4 separate regions of the Homo sapiens genome follow, and regions 1, 2 and 4 are each linked to region 3. The links are contacts of gene promoters, found by promoter capture Hi-C in blood cells and fetal thymus (Javierre and others, 2016). All regions are on one chromosome and are shown on one strand. The core of a region is centred on a gene start or on the middle of the fragment in contact, and the rest is flanking DNA. Distances in the headings are between cores, read along the strand shown. Region 1 overlaps GTPBP8 (GTP binding protein 8). Region 2 overlaps ATG3 (autophagy related 3). Region 3 holds the start of SPICE1 (spindle and centriole associated protein 1). Region 4 holds the start of CCDC191 (coiled-coil domain containing 191).

Evidence for each region. The method cuts DNA at HindIII sites, captures the fragments that hold promoters and counts their contacts. A CHiCAGO score of 5 or more calls a contact.
Region 1: a contact is called between a fragment that was not itself captured here and the fragment with the promoter of SPICE1 in region 3, in 1 of 17 cell types (fetal thymus). The highest score is 5.8, in fetal thymus.
Region 2: a fragment that was not itself captured here is called in contact with the fragment with the promoter of SPICE1 in region 3 in 1 of 17 cell types (fetal thymus); the score reaches 6.1 in fetal thymus.
Region 4: a contact is called between the fragment with the promoter of CCDC191 here and the fragment with the promoter of SPICE1 in region 3, in 1 of 17 cell types (non-activated CD4 T cells). The highest score is 5.3, in non-activated CD4 T cells.

Annotation. Positions count from the first base shown.
Region 1 is chr3:112,991,258-112,994,050 of GRCh38, forward strand. It overlaps GTPBP8 (GTP binding protein 8), which reads left to right. Exons shown (of 6, transcript NM_014170.4): 1 at 1-78; 2 at 1,769-1,867. Among named protein-coding and RNA genes, the nearest start is that of GTPBP8, 1.7 kb to the left of the region's middle. The HindIII fragment of the contact is 160 bases long and covers 1,249-1,408 here.
Region 2 is chr3:112,557,871-112,560,652 of GRCh38, forward strand. It overlaps ATG3 (autophagy related 3), which reads right to left. Exons shown (of 12, transcript NM_022488.5): 2 at 506-547. Among named protein-coding and RNA genes, the nearest start is that of ATG3, 2.7 kb to the right of the region's middle. The HindIII fragment of the contact is 2,731 bases long and covers 1-2,694 here.
Region 3 is chr3:113,513,705-113,516,462 of GRCh38, forward strand. It overlaps SPICE1 (spindle and centriole associated protein 1), which reads right to left and starts at 1,452. Exons shown (of 18, transcript NM_144718.4): 1 at 1,193-1,452. It overlaps SPICE1-CFAP44 (SPICE1-CFAP44 readthrough (NMD candidate)), which reads right to left and starts at 1,452. Exons shown (of 52, transcript NR_183050.1): 1 at 1,193-1,452. RefSeq lists enhancers at 1,139-1,258, 1,319-1,368, 2,075-2,124, 2,635-2,684, 2,745-2,758. The HindIII fragment of the contact is 3,693 bases long and covers 308-2,758 here.
Region 4 is chr3:114,055,220-114,058,111 of GRCh38, forward strand. CCDC191 (coiled-coil domain containing 191) reads right to left here and starts at 1,307. Exons shown (of 17, transcript NM_020817.2): 1 at 1,158-1,307. The coding sequence starts at 1,247. It overlaps QTRT2 (queuine tRNA-ribosyltransferase accessory subunit 2), which reads left to right and starts at 1,518. Exons shown (of 10, transcript NM_024638.4): 1 at 1,518-1,645; 2 at 1,780-1,887. RefSeq lists an enhancer at 1,049-1,458. The HindIII fragment of the contact is 7,070 bases long and covers 412-2,892 here.

The sequences.
Region 1 (2,793 bases), core at 79-2,578, 520 kb before region 3:
GCCACTGAACGGAACCGCATCGACTACGTCAGCTCCGCCGTCCGTATCGACCACGCCCCGGACCTTCCGCGGCCAGAGGTGAGAGGCGATTCTCACGGTTCACCTGCGCGCCGGCGTCACAGCGCTAACCGCTTCCCTGGCCGTCCGGCTCGCGGGTGATTTTGCGGTTGTATTTTCTAGCTTTATGTTGGCGCATATATTATTTTAACTCAATAGGCATATGTCGATGCTCCCTGTACGTGGGGATACCCGAGAAACCCATTGTTAAGTACAAAATGCAGTCAATACCCATAAACCCATGGTAAAGTCAAAAATCGTTAAGTCGACCCACTGTAAGCAGAGACTGCCTGTATACAGCTTAAATTATTTTGGAATGAATATAGAAGACTTCAAAATGCTTTAAAAGCTTTTCAAACCCAAATTAAGCATTCAAAAAATTAACTCTCCTTTTTTCTTCTATTTAACTTAAGTAGGGAAAACATGCCAGACAAATTAGACAGAATTTAGACAGTGAAGAATAGGAAACGAATAATAGTTTCACAAATGAGATGGTCCTTATCAATAAGTAACTTTCGCCTAATCTAAATTTCCTATCGTGCAAAAATAATAATCTCTAGATGGCAATAATGTGGAAAAATTTTTATAACAACGTTTATTAGTGAAATTTCATGAGTGAGCATTCTTGCATGTCCTACAATTTATTGATATTCTGTTCTAAGTCTGCTAAAAGGCATCTCAACTCTCCATATGTATTTACACTAAGTGCACCATTGCCCAGAGATATTTCGTCTAAATATATGTGGAACTATAGTCAGGATTCAAAGAGTACCTCAATTATTTAATGATTTTGAGACAGCCATTGCTTTTTTATTTAAGCTTCTAAATTACTGGACTTTTTTGTAATTCGTTTTTAAAATTCAGTTTTATCTACATATTAGCATTAGATTTGCTCTGGCAGAGCATTTAAAATTTTTGCAGGACTCAGATCAATTAATTTTGAAGAACTGACCAGAATTTTCCAGGATAGGATCCCTGGCCCCTGCCCACTAAATGTCCCCCAATTGTCTTGATAACCAAAAATGCCCTTAAAATCTCCAAAATGTCCCTCAAGGGGCAGTACGGCCGTCATTTAGAACAACTGATTGGCATTGTACCCCCTCCCCCAATACCATGTTCAAAAGCAGAGCCATGTGTATTAATGGTTATTATCGAGAATATTCTGTTGTTTTCCACACTACAGAGGAGACAAGCTTAATTGGAACAAGAGAGGTCAAGGGAAAAGAGTAAGTTTTTAAATTGCAGTGGTGTTACAGTATACCATGGGAGTGCTTGAGAAAATGTGCTTCCAAACATGTAGTTGTACTTTTCATCTAGTTCTGTTGAACTACATCTAGTTTTTACTCTAAAAAGCTTTGTAAATATGAAATGCTTAATAAAAGTTGCATATATTCTTGAGTAGCGTAGTGAAACTAAAAGCACAGATTCTAGATATACATGTCCTGAGTTCAAATCCCAACTCCTTCACTTTCTAGCTGTATAATTTTGGGTTAGTTGTGTTCTCTCATCCGTAAAATGGGGATAATATCACCTACCTCCTAGATGCTGTAAAAAATGAATAAGAAAATATATGCTGAATGCTTAAAATAGTACCTGGCACATTTAATTCATTCAATAAATATTAGCTGTGTTAGAATTTGAAGTTTTTTACATCTAATGCAGAATAGCATATACAGCTAGTACGTACTTATCTTGTTTTTTCTTGTATAAGGTGTGTTTTATAGGCAGAAGCAATGTTGGAAAATCATCTCTAATCAAGGCTTTATTTTCACTGGCCCCTGAGGTTGAAGTCAGAGTCTCCAAAAAACCAGTATGTTGAAGTTTTTAAATATGTTTGGACTATCTCTTGGATTAACTAACATGAATAATAAATGCTGGAAGGTATAAGAAATCATAATTACTAAGTTCCTAGAGAAGTGATTTCTTTCAAAAAAGTAATAAAGTAAGACATCCTAATGCCTGTGTATTCCTCTGAAGAAAAGGAAGTGTAGCTGGATTTATTTTAGTAGTCTAGACAATATCTTCAGAAAGTCTTTCTTTATCCAAATTTTGCAGAGTTGCCAAATAAAGTGTCTTATTGTCATTCTATATTTCCTCCTATAACAGTGATCATCTAGTTCTACACTGATTGTACGGTAAATGGCTTTTAGGTTTTTCTTGCTTTTTTCCTCCTATAATCTTTTTTAAGGTATAAAGTACGTGATTAGTTACACACACACATTCGGCATATTCTTATGTGCTTGTTTTCCTAGCCAGTCTGCTGTAATAGCTTTCTTTCATTTTCTAATTCCCTCTACTTTCTTCTCAACGACGCAGTCTCTGCCAATATCTAAGATACCCTTTCTTCAAAATCACCCCCACTTTGTCTCACCATATCTGGCCATGGTAAACCTTTCCACCAACCCTAATGTTCACTATCCCTGTGTATGTGCGTGCACGAACGCACACACACCCCTTTCATTGAGTTGGAACCCTTCCATGAGACTTCACTAGGTCTTTTCTTGCTCCTCACTTCATAAAATGATTCTCTGGCTCCATCGCTAATGATTCTTCCCATTACTTAACCCTCCCATCCTTACTCCTGCCCCGCCTCACCAAATAAATCAGCCAAATGATCACTTCTAAGTAGAGTGATCTCCTTCCTTTTGTGAGAGGACAATGGAGGAAATGTATTCTTGACATTCCCAATCTGTAATTCTAAAATCATTTTCCTGTAGACAAATAAACTGACTGGGA
Region 2 (2,782 bases), core at 79-2,578, 960 kb before region 3:
GTCTGATAAAACCATAATTATTCATAAAATTGGAGCCTGAAAAGGTTTTTAGCCCAGTATTTACTTCTCCACCGACAACGAAATAGAACTCTTAAGAGAAAACAATATCTAAGTAGTAAGCAAAGTTTTCCAATGAAAAGCATGAAAACTCACATTTGATGTAAACAGAACCAAGACACCACAGACATTACAGAGCTTACTGCACAGCTCAATATAACACCAATACAAGTCAAGGATAAGTGACATAGGACTCATTTTGATCCCTTCTTTCACCCTCATTTCTAAATAAAGAGGAACTACAGAGAAATATGAGAAGTGGCAAACTGACGGGGAAGTTACATCTTTTCTTCTATGGGAAGTAGAAATTCCCATAAATCACAGTCATAAAACCTAATTTTACTCAAATCAAAATTAAAGTTCAAGATGTTTTCTTATGAAGCAGAAAAGCCACCTAGTTTAGTATTATTGTAAAATAAAAAGACTTCAGTATATCTTCAGCACTCACCTCTTCTGGGGTAATTACACCTGTTTCCTTAAACTTTGATTCCTAAAAAAAGCAGAAAGAAAAACAATATTATATCATGTTTCACTATCAATTAAATATATTTTGGGGGCAATTATTTGCCTGGTGCCCTTCTAGGCAATAGAGCACATACAAAAAAAAATTAGTCTATCTATCTAATCTATAATCTATCTAATCTACCTATCTACCTACCTCATTGGTATCTATCTATATCTATCTATCTGTTTCACTCACTGGTAATGACCACAGGAATATACAAGTCTAATGTAGGAAACAGACATGAAAATAATTATAATACTATCAGATCAGTGCTATAATAGAGTAAAGCTCTATGTAGAAACATTCTTTTTTTTTTTTTTTAAGATGGAGTTTCACTCCTGTTGCCCAGGCTGGAGTGCAGTGGCGCCATCTTGGCTCACGGCAACCTCCACCTCCCGGGTTCAAGCGATTCTCCTGCCTCAGCCTCCTGCCTGTAGCTGGGATTACAGGCATGTGCCACCATGCCCGGCTAATTTTTGCATTTTTAGTAGAGACAGGGTTTCTCCATGTTTGTCAGGCTGGTCTCGAACTCCTGACCTCAGGTGATCCACCCGCCTCGGCCTCCCAATGTGCTGGGATTACAGGCGTGAGCCACTGCGCCCGGCCAAGCTCTATGTACAAACATTCTAAGATTTAAATAAAAATAAAGCCTTACAGTGATTCTGTGAAATGAACAAATACCTTTATTTTACAGCACAGCAAAAATGTCTTAAAGATGTTTAGACATCTTACAATTCAGCCAGTCTTATTTAAACTGAATAATGTTAGAAACCAAATCTAGAAATTATTTAGCATTTTCCTCTAATTCTCATCTCCACCAAGATACTGACACACTATTCTCTAAATTTTTCTAAACTTTAAGTTATATGTAAGATTTTCTGGTAGAGTCTACAAAAATGAAAACACTCATTTATAAACATTATTCATTCAACAAATGTTTACTATGTGCCAGACACTATTTGAGGCAGTGGGGATATTTGGGGGTGAATAACATAAATACAAATTTATTCTTGCCCTCATAAGGAGTTTCAACTCCAGTTGAGGAAGAAAAGCCAAATGGTAATGAATAACATACCATAAAGAAAAATGAAGCTGAGAGGAATCTGTGGGGTGGCTGGGGAGAGATGGCCATTTAAAATAGAATGGTAAGAGAACAAAGACTTCACTGAATAATGACTTAAAAACCTTAAGGAAAGGAACATGCCATAAGGCTGTTAAGTGCGAAGCGCGTTTCAGATAGAGGGAAGAGCACATGCAAAACCCCAAACCAAGAGTGTGCTTAACAGAATAATAAAGAGATCAGGTTAGCTTAAGCAACAGCAGTCAGGGGATGGAGCAGATGAGATTGGGGCCTCTACCAATTAAGCAGAACCTTAGAGATGATTGTAAGAACTTCAGTGTTTACTGCATGTACATACTCCAAACAAAACATGATTTTTCTTAATTTTTACTTGCTAGGAGAAGGCTATTACTTATTTCCTGAGGATTTTGTTCTTTCTCCTTGCCCTCCCTAAGCAGGAAACTGTAAGGATTCTCTCTGTAAACAACAGTTTGCACAGGAGTATCAAGGAGACGGTCATTCATTCTTTCCTTTTTACTAAAGACATATACCATACATACTGACATGCCAACAGTTCCTTTTCAGTTTGGTGAGCAAGTATGATGGACTCCTGAAAACATAATTCTACATCATACATTTTATATTTCATTTGGGCAGTCTCTTGCTCCTCTCTCCCGGAAACTAAAAAGTTGTACAATGGTGTATTATTAAAATACTGTATACCTAGGTAGATATGATATTCTGAAAAGTTAACATAATTATGTAAAAGCATTTGATTCAAATGTGAAAATTATTTTCCAATCTTAGTTTGACTGAATAATCTTAAAATGACTTTCACAGTAAACAAATGTAAGCAAAGCAACAGTTGAAATTCTCATTTATAATCGCTGGTTTATTTCTTACTTGGCCAATAAGTTATTCTTTTAAAAGGAGCTTTACAAAAACGTATTTTAAAAAGTATAGACCTAGTACTTCCCTTTGTCATGGAAAGGGAGCAAAGCAAAACTCTCCACTATTCTTAGCATATTAAGGTATTTCACCCCCACACTGAGATTGGTACATTCTAACTGAAAGCTTAAAAACAACTAGAAAAAAAAAACAAAAACTAAGCAAGAACTTCCCATTAATTTACTATTCTTGCTCACTTTTCAGAAAGCAAA
Region 3 (2,758 bases), core at 202-2,701:
TCTTGCCCGCTCTTCTCCATCTCTACTAAAAATATTTTTGTTCAGGCTCTCATTATTCTAATTAGTCTCCCTTTCACTCTTCACTCACTGACTTCATCATCCATCTATTAATGTAACTAATATTTTGAAGCACCATCTAAAAGCGAGGCACCAGATATAACAAGAAAGTAGAATAGTCTATGCCCTTGCAGAGTTAAGAGTTTCTAAGAGGACCGCAATTAAACAAGTATTTACAACAAAAGGGCAGCATGGGAAGTAAATTCTGTGTGCCATGAAAGTACCTAACTAACTCTATGCAGTAAGTAAAAGCTTCTCCTCTCTGTAATACCCCCAAAAATGTTTGCACTGAGAGCTAAAATACGAATAAAAGTTAGAAGCAGGGGAAAGAATATTCCAGGCAAGGGAAAATGCATTTACGAAGAGTTTGAGAAGTTCAGTTCAATTAACAAAGATCTGAGAGGGTGAGAGGTTAAAGGAAGAAAGGCAGACAGCAGATTGTAGTCTTGTGAGCCACAGCAATCTGAACACCTAAGACCATAGGAAACCACTGAAGAATTTTAAAAGGGATAGTTATGACTGGACTTAGTAAATCCACTCTGACTGGTGTGGAAAACTGATCAAAGAGAAACAAGAACTCTTTCCAAACACTGTTGAATCAATCCTACCTAAATACATGGATAGAGAATAGATCTGAACCCTTTACCTACTTCCTCTAGATTCGGATGGCTCCCCACTGTCAAAAGCAATCCAACTCAGCTTGGCATTCAGACCCTCTCCCCCATATGGCCCGGCTGACTTTTCTTTCCAGTGTTCTCTCACATCTCCCGCAAATCCTAAAACCAAGCTCTCGCCTCACACACAGTTGCAACCATTCTTTTCCCTCTGCTTGGAACACTCATTAGGCTCACTCTCTTCTCTACTGGGTTAACTTCCACGGACTCCTCAAAACTCACAGGAGGAGCCTTCTGAGAAGCCCCTCTGACATCCATCGATTTAAATGACGCTCCCGGTCCCAAAGCACCCTGGATAGTTTGCCTCTCTCCTGCTACACGGTGAACTCCCCCAACGCTACAATCGAGCACCCCCAATTACCAGCTCTGTGCAAAAGCTCCCGAAAGCGGTGCGCACGCGCATACTCGAGGTGCTCTGGCGCCACGCACAAACATACCCAGACACGCACCCTGACACGTACTTGCACTCTCAAAACACAGAGCCGCGGCTGCGCTTCCTGAAGTAAGGATTCCCCAACCGGGCGCCTGGATCCCAGGCAACAGACAGATGCCACCACCGTTCTCCCCACCCTTTTGGTAGCCCTGGTCCCTAAGGCTCGTTGGGACTGCGAGCTGCAAGCCTCAGATCCATCATCTCAACCTGCCTTGCAGTCGGTCCCGACTGCCGCCGCCACCGCAGCTAAAACTTCAGGCGCCGGAACCGCGGAGCGCGCCACAGGTTAACCCAGCCAGCGGCTTCCGGGCTGTTGCCTGGGTTACCAGAGCTCCGCCCCACGCCCTTGCGTATATCCGGCGAGCCCAGTGCGCAGGCGCCTCCCAAAGCCTATCTCGGGTCCTGAGTCTAAGGGAGAGAGGTTCCTCTGCAAGGTTCAGGGCAAATTATTAAAGAATAGGTATATAGCAGGCCGGGCGCGGTGGCTGACGCCTGTAATCCCAGCACTTTGGGAGGCCGAGGCAGGCGGATCACGAGGTCAGGAGATCGAGACCATCCTGGCTAACACGGTGAAACCCCGTCTCTACTAAAAATACAAAAAATTACCCGGGCCAGGTGGCGGGCGCCTGTAGTCCCAGCTACTCGGGAGGCTGAGGCAGGAGAATGGCGTGAACCTGGGAGGTGGAGGTTGCAGTGAGCCGACATGGCGCCACTGCAGTCCGGCCTGGGCGAAAGAGCGAGACTCCGTCTCAAAAAAAAAAAAAAAAAAAAAAGAATAGGCATATAGCATTAGCCGGTGCCTCGAGAATTCTCCAAAAGAAAGATGTTGCTCTCCTCACCAGACTTCACATATCACTTAATTTGCTTTCATCTCTATTCATTTGTTTACAAATCTTTAGTAGTGGAATCCCAGCACTTTTGGAGACAGAAGCAGAAGGATTGCTTAAGCTCAGGAGTTTGAGACAAGCATGGGCAAGATGGCGAAACCCCGTCTCTACGAAAAATTAAAAAATTAGCTGGGCGTGGGAACACGCCTGTAGTTCCAGCTACTCAGGAAGCTGAGGTGCGAGGATCGCTTGAGCCAAGGAGGGCAAAGCTGTAGTGAGCCACAGTCATACCACTTCACTCCAGCCTGGACGACAAAGCAAGACCTTGTCTCAAAAAAAAAAAAAAAAGTTGTTTATTACAACCTACAAATGTGCGGGAGAGCTAGGTTCTATGGGGCTAAAAACAGGCAAGGTGGGAAACTTACAGCATATTAACAGACAGTTATCAATGACAAAAACATTAAAATTATGACGAGTGCTAAGAAGGAAGCACTCTAACCAAATACTTAGCTTATTATTATAGTAATATTTGAATTACTCAGGAAAGCTCAGACATGAATAGGCCAGTGGGGAAGGGGAAAGCATTCCTGCAGAGGGAGCTGCATGTGCAAAGATGTGGAAAATGCAAGGGACAGGAAGAGGTCCAGTGTGTCTGAAGTTTAGAGAACAGTGGGAACTTGCTGTGAAGGGGAGGCGCCCTGATAGGCTGGATCCACGACAGTCAGAGCTGCGTGGACCACGTTAAGAACTTTACAAAGCACTTGATT
Region 4 (2,892 bases), core at 57-2,556, 540 kb after region 3:
CCCTATGTTTTTACCTTTTTTTCTCTAGGCAGTAATAATGAGCACTAGCAGCAAAAATCCTTCCTTTTGGAGTCCTAAGAAATTATTCTAAATTTTTACCTTTCATCATCAAGTCCATATCTATATCCTATCTTGGATCCAATACATTATGCAACTGATGTATTGAAATAGCAGCAGCCTCAGTTTCCAAGTCTCCCTGATGCTTCAGTCTGTGCCCTCTAGTATCTAGGGCAACATATTTGTCATGTGGAATATGTCCAATGCATTTAGCTGGTAAATTTAGAATAAATCGCAAGAACAATCGCCTGGGGCCCTCAAAAAGGCCACATACATCTACAGAATATTATTTAGGAAAGTATAACTTAAGGGTGAAAACAGCTGGTGAAACTGCTCTGTAGCTGAAAGCTGAGAAGCTTCTCCATTTTAGTACTCTCATTTAGATTTTAAGCATCTTTTTGGGGACTGTTAAAAAGGTAGTCTGTGGAAAGCACACGGTGCAACTGTGACTTTGCACATGTCACATATGTTTCAAGTTTAAAATGGGGTTATTATTTTTTTCTTATCTTCAGGTGCTAATGCATCCAAATGGGTGATAGATACGGAGAGAATCTATTTTTTGAAAGTTGGTTGAATTTAGAAATTACTATGTGAATCAAGTATTAATGTATTCAATATCCATTTGCACTCCTGAGTTTATTTAGATACTTTACGTAAAAGTGAAGGGGCAGGAATATAGGCAGGGTATTTAATGTGAAGCTCTCTCCCGTTAATAAAGATCAATTACCCCAAGATTTGCAAAAAAAAAAAAAGAGAGAGAAAAAGAAAGAAATGTGCGAGAAGTTTCCTAAAATTTAAGGTAGGGGGAACGGAGTTTGCAAACTCCTTTCACCCCGATGGGCATTAGCAGACACCTCCGGTTTTAGAAAAGCGTTACAAACAGTTCTTCCACGATGCTGCCCACCAAAGCCGTAATGTGCCCAGACCCCAGAGCTCCTAGAGCATTTCACTCAGGGTAATGCTGGCTTTGGGGCGGTCAAGGCAGGGGCGTGTCAGCTCAGGATGAAGAGGCAGGAAGCACAGACGGGCCGCGACTGGCTTCCTGACTGCGCCGCGCCTTGGGAAAGTCCCCGCCCTCCAAAGCTCTCGATTGGGATCACCTTGGGACTCGGCTTCCTTGTGAACCGTTTCCAGCGATTCAGCCCCATCCTTTTCTTTGAGAAGGACCTTCCCTGAGGCGCCAGGAGCATTTTCCAAGTTCGAGCCCGAACCTCGGCCAAAGCTGCAGCAACCGCCCTTCTGCCCGGGCTGCCTCCGGGTCACGCTGGGAATTGTAGTTCCTCCGCCCGCAAGGAAAGCAGGCATAGGACACCGTCGAACCACCACTCCCACGAGGCTCTGCGCAGGCCGCTCGCGTTGGCTCAGTTACCATAGCAACGGCAGAGGTCCCTCGCTCTTGCCGTCATCAAGGCTCGCTTGAATGTCGGCTTTGCTTTTTTTCTGGCGCCCAGTGATGACGCAGTACTCCCTGATTGGCTCTGCACTGGAGGCAGTGATTTTGGGGCAGAGAATTTTGCAACACGTGGTAGTGAACTGTGAGGAGTTTGAGGGGTCTGAAGACTGAAAGAGTCGAATGGTTTGTTGGCAGGTAAGTGCCCCTTTGCCCTGCTGGTGTGGGAGCTGCTAGAGATGGATGAGTCACGTCGCGTCCAGACGCTTCCTGGTTGTGTTGCAGTAACGGTGATTGTACTCCCGCCATGTCTCCTCTGCTTCCCTTTTCAGGGTGTCCTGGTGGATTGGTTTCTGTAAGTTCAGATTCTCATAAATCGTGTGAGCGTCGCCGACACCTCTGAGATAAAAGGGCCCCTTTCGACTAGCCTCTGCTGAAAGGTAGAGTTTTCAGGAAGTTTTTATTCCGAACTGCCCATGGGAGGGTGGGACCGTCTTCAATCTCTGAGCCAGGTGCCTAGGGAGGTCTGGGGCCATGGAGATGGCCCATGGAGCAAAGATAAATCCAGGCTTATTGGCTTAGCCGAGGTGTTTCCAGAGACAGCCCATTTAGGGGTGATAAATGGGCTTATAAAGCAGAGTAAAGATTTAGAACAGGAGTTTTGAATTCAACTACTTTGTGGCTATATGACCCTAGGCAACTTGTTTAATAACTCAGAGACCCTGTTTTCTCATGCAAAATGGGGACGATAATACCTGAATCACTGGAGTGTTGTAATGATTAAAAATAAATGTATGTGAAGCATTCTGCCAGGAAATGTAAACTAAAGTTGATTTGAAATTGGTGAAAATGAAGTTAGGGAAGCTATGCCCTCGGACTGTTGCAGCGATCCTAGGACCAGCTCTGTAACTGGTCTGTCTGAAAGGCGGTTGAATAAATTGTGCTCATACAAACTATGCAGTACCACGAAGTAGTTTTTTTCAAAAGGGTAAGTTAGCTTTATGTCTCTTCTTCAGGAAAGACGTCTAATGTTTATTCTTGAGAGAAAAGCAAATTGCAGAGAAGTGCATATATTATAGTATAATATGTTTCCATTTTTGTAAAAGCAAACCCTGACCAAAACACTCCCTCCCATATGCAAGTATGTTTAAATATTTGTATGAGAATGGAGAAAGATTGCAGAGACTGGGAGGATGGATTAGAGGCGGGAGGGAGAAAGGGAAAAGAAGAAGAACACTATAGCAAAATGGAAACTAAGATTATAATGTGCTTGTGTACCAGATGGAACTTCTAATAAGCTCCCAGCCTATTAGAGTACAGCGCTGAAAACTAGACTTCAATAATTAAAGTCCTTGCTCTGCCACTTACCAGCTGGGGATTTTATCAGCCTCAGTTTATCATACATAAAATGCAGATAATAATGGTATCTATATTATGCATTTGAT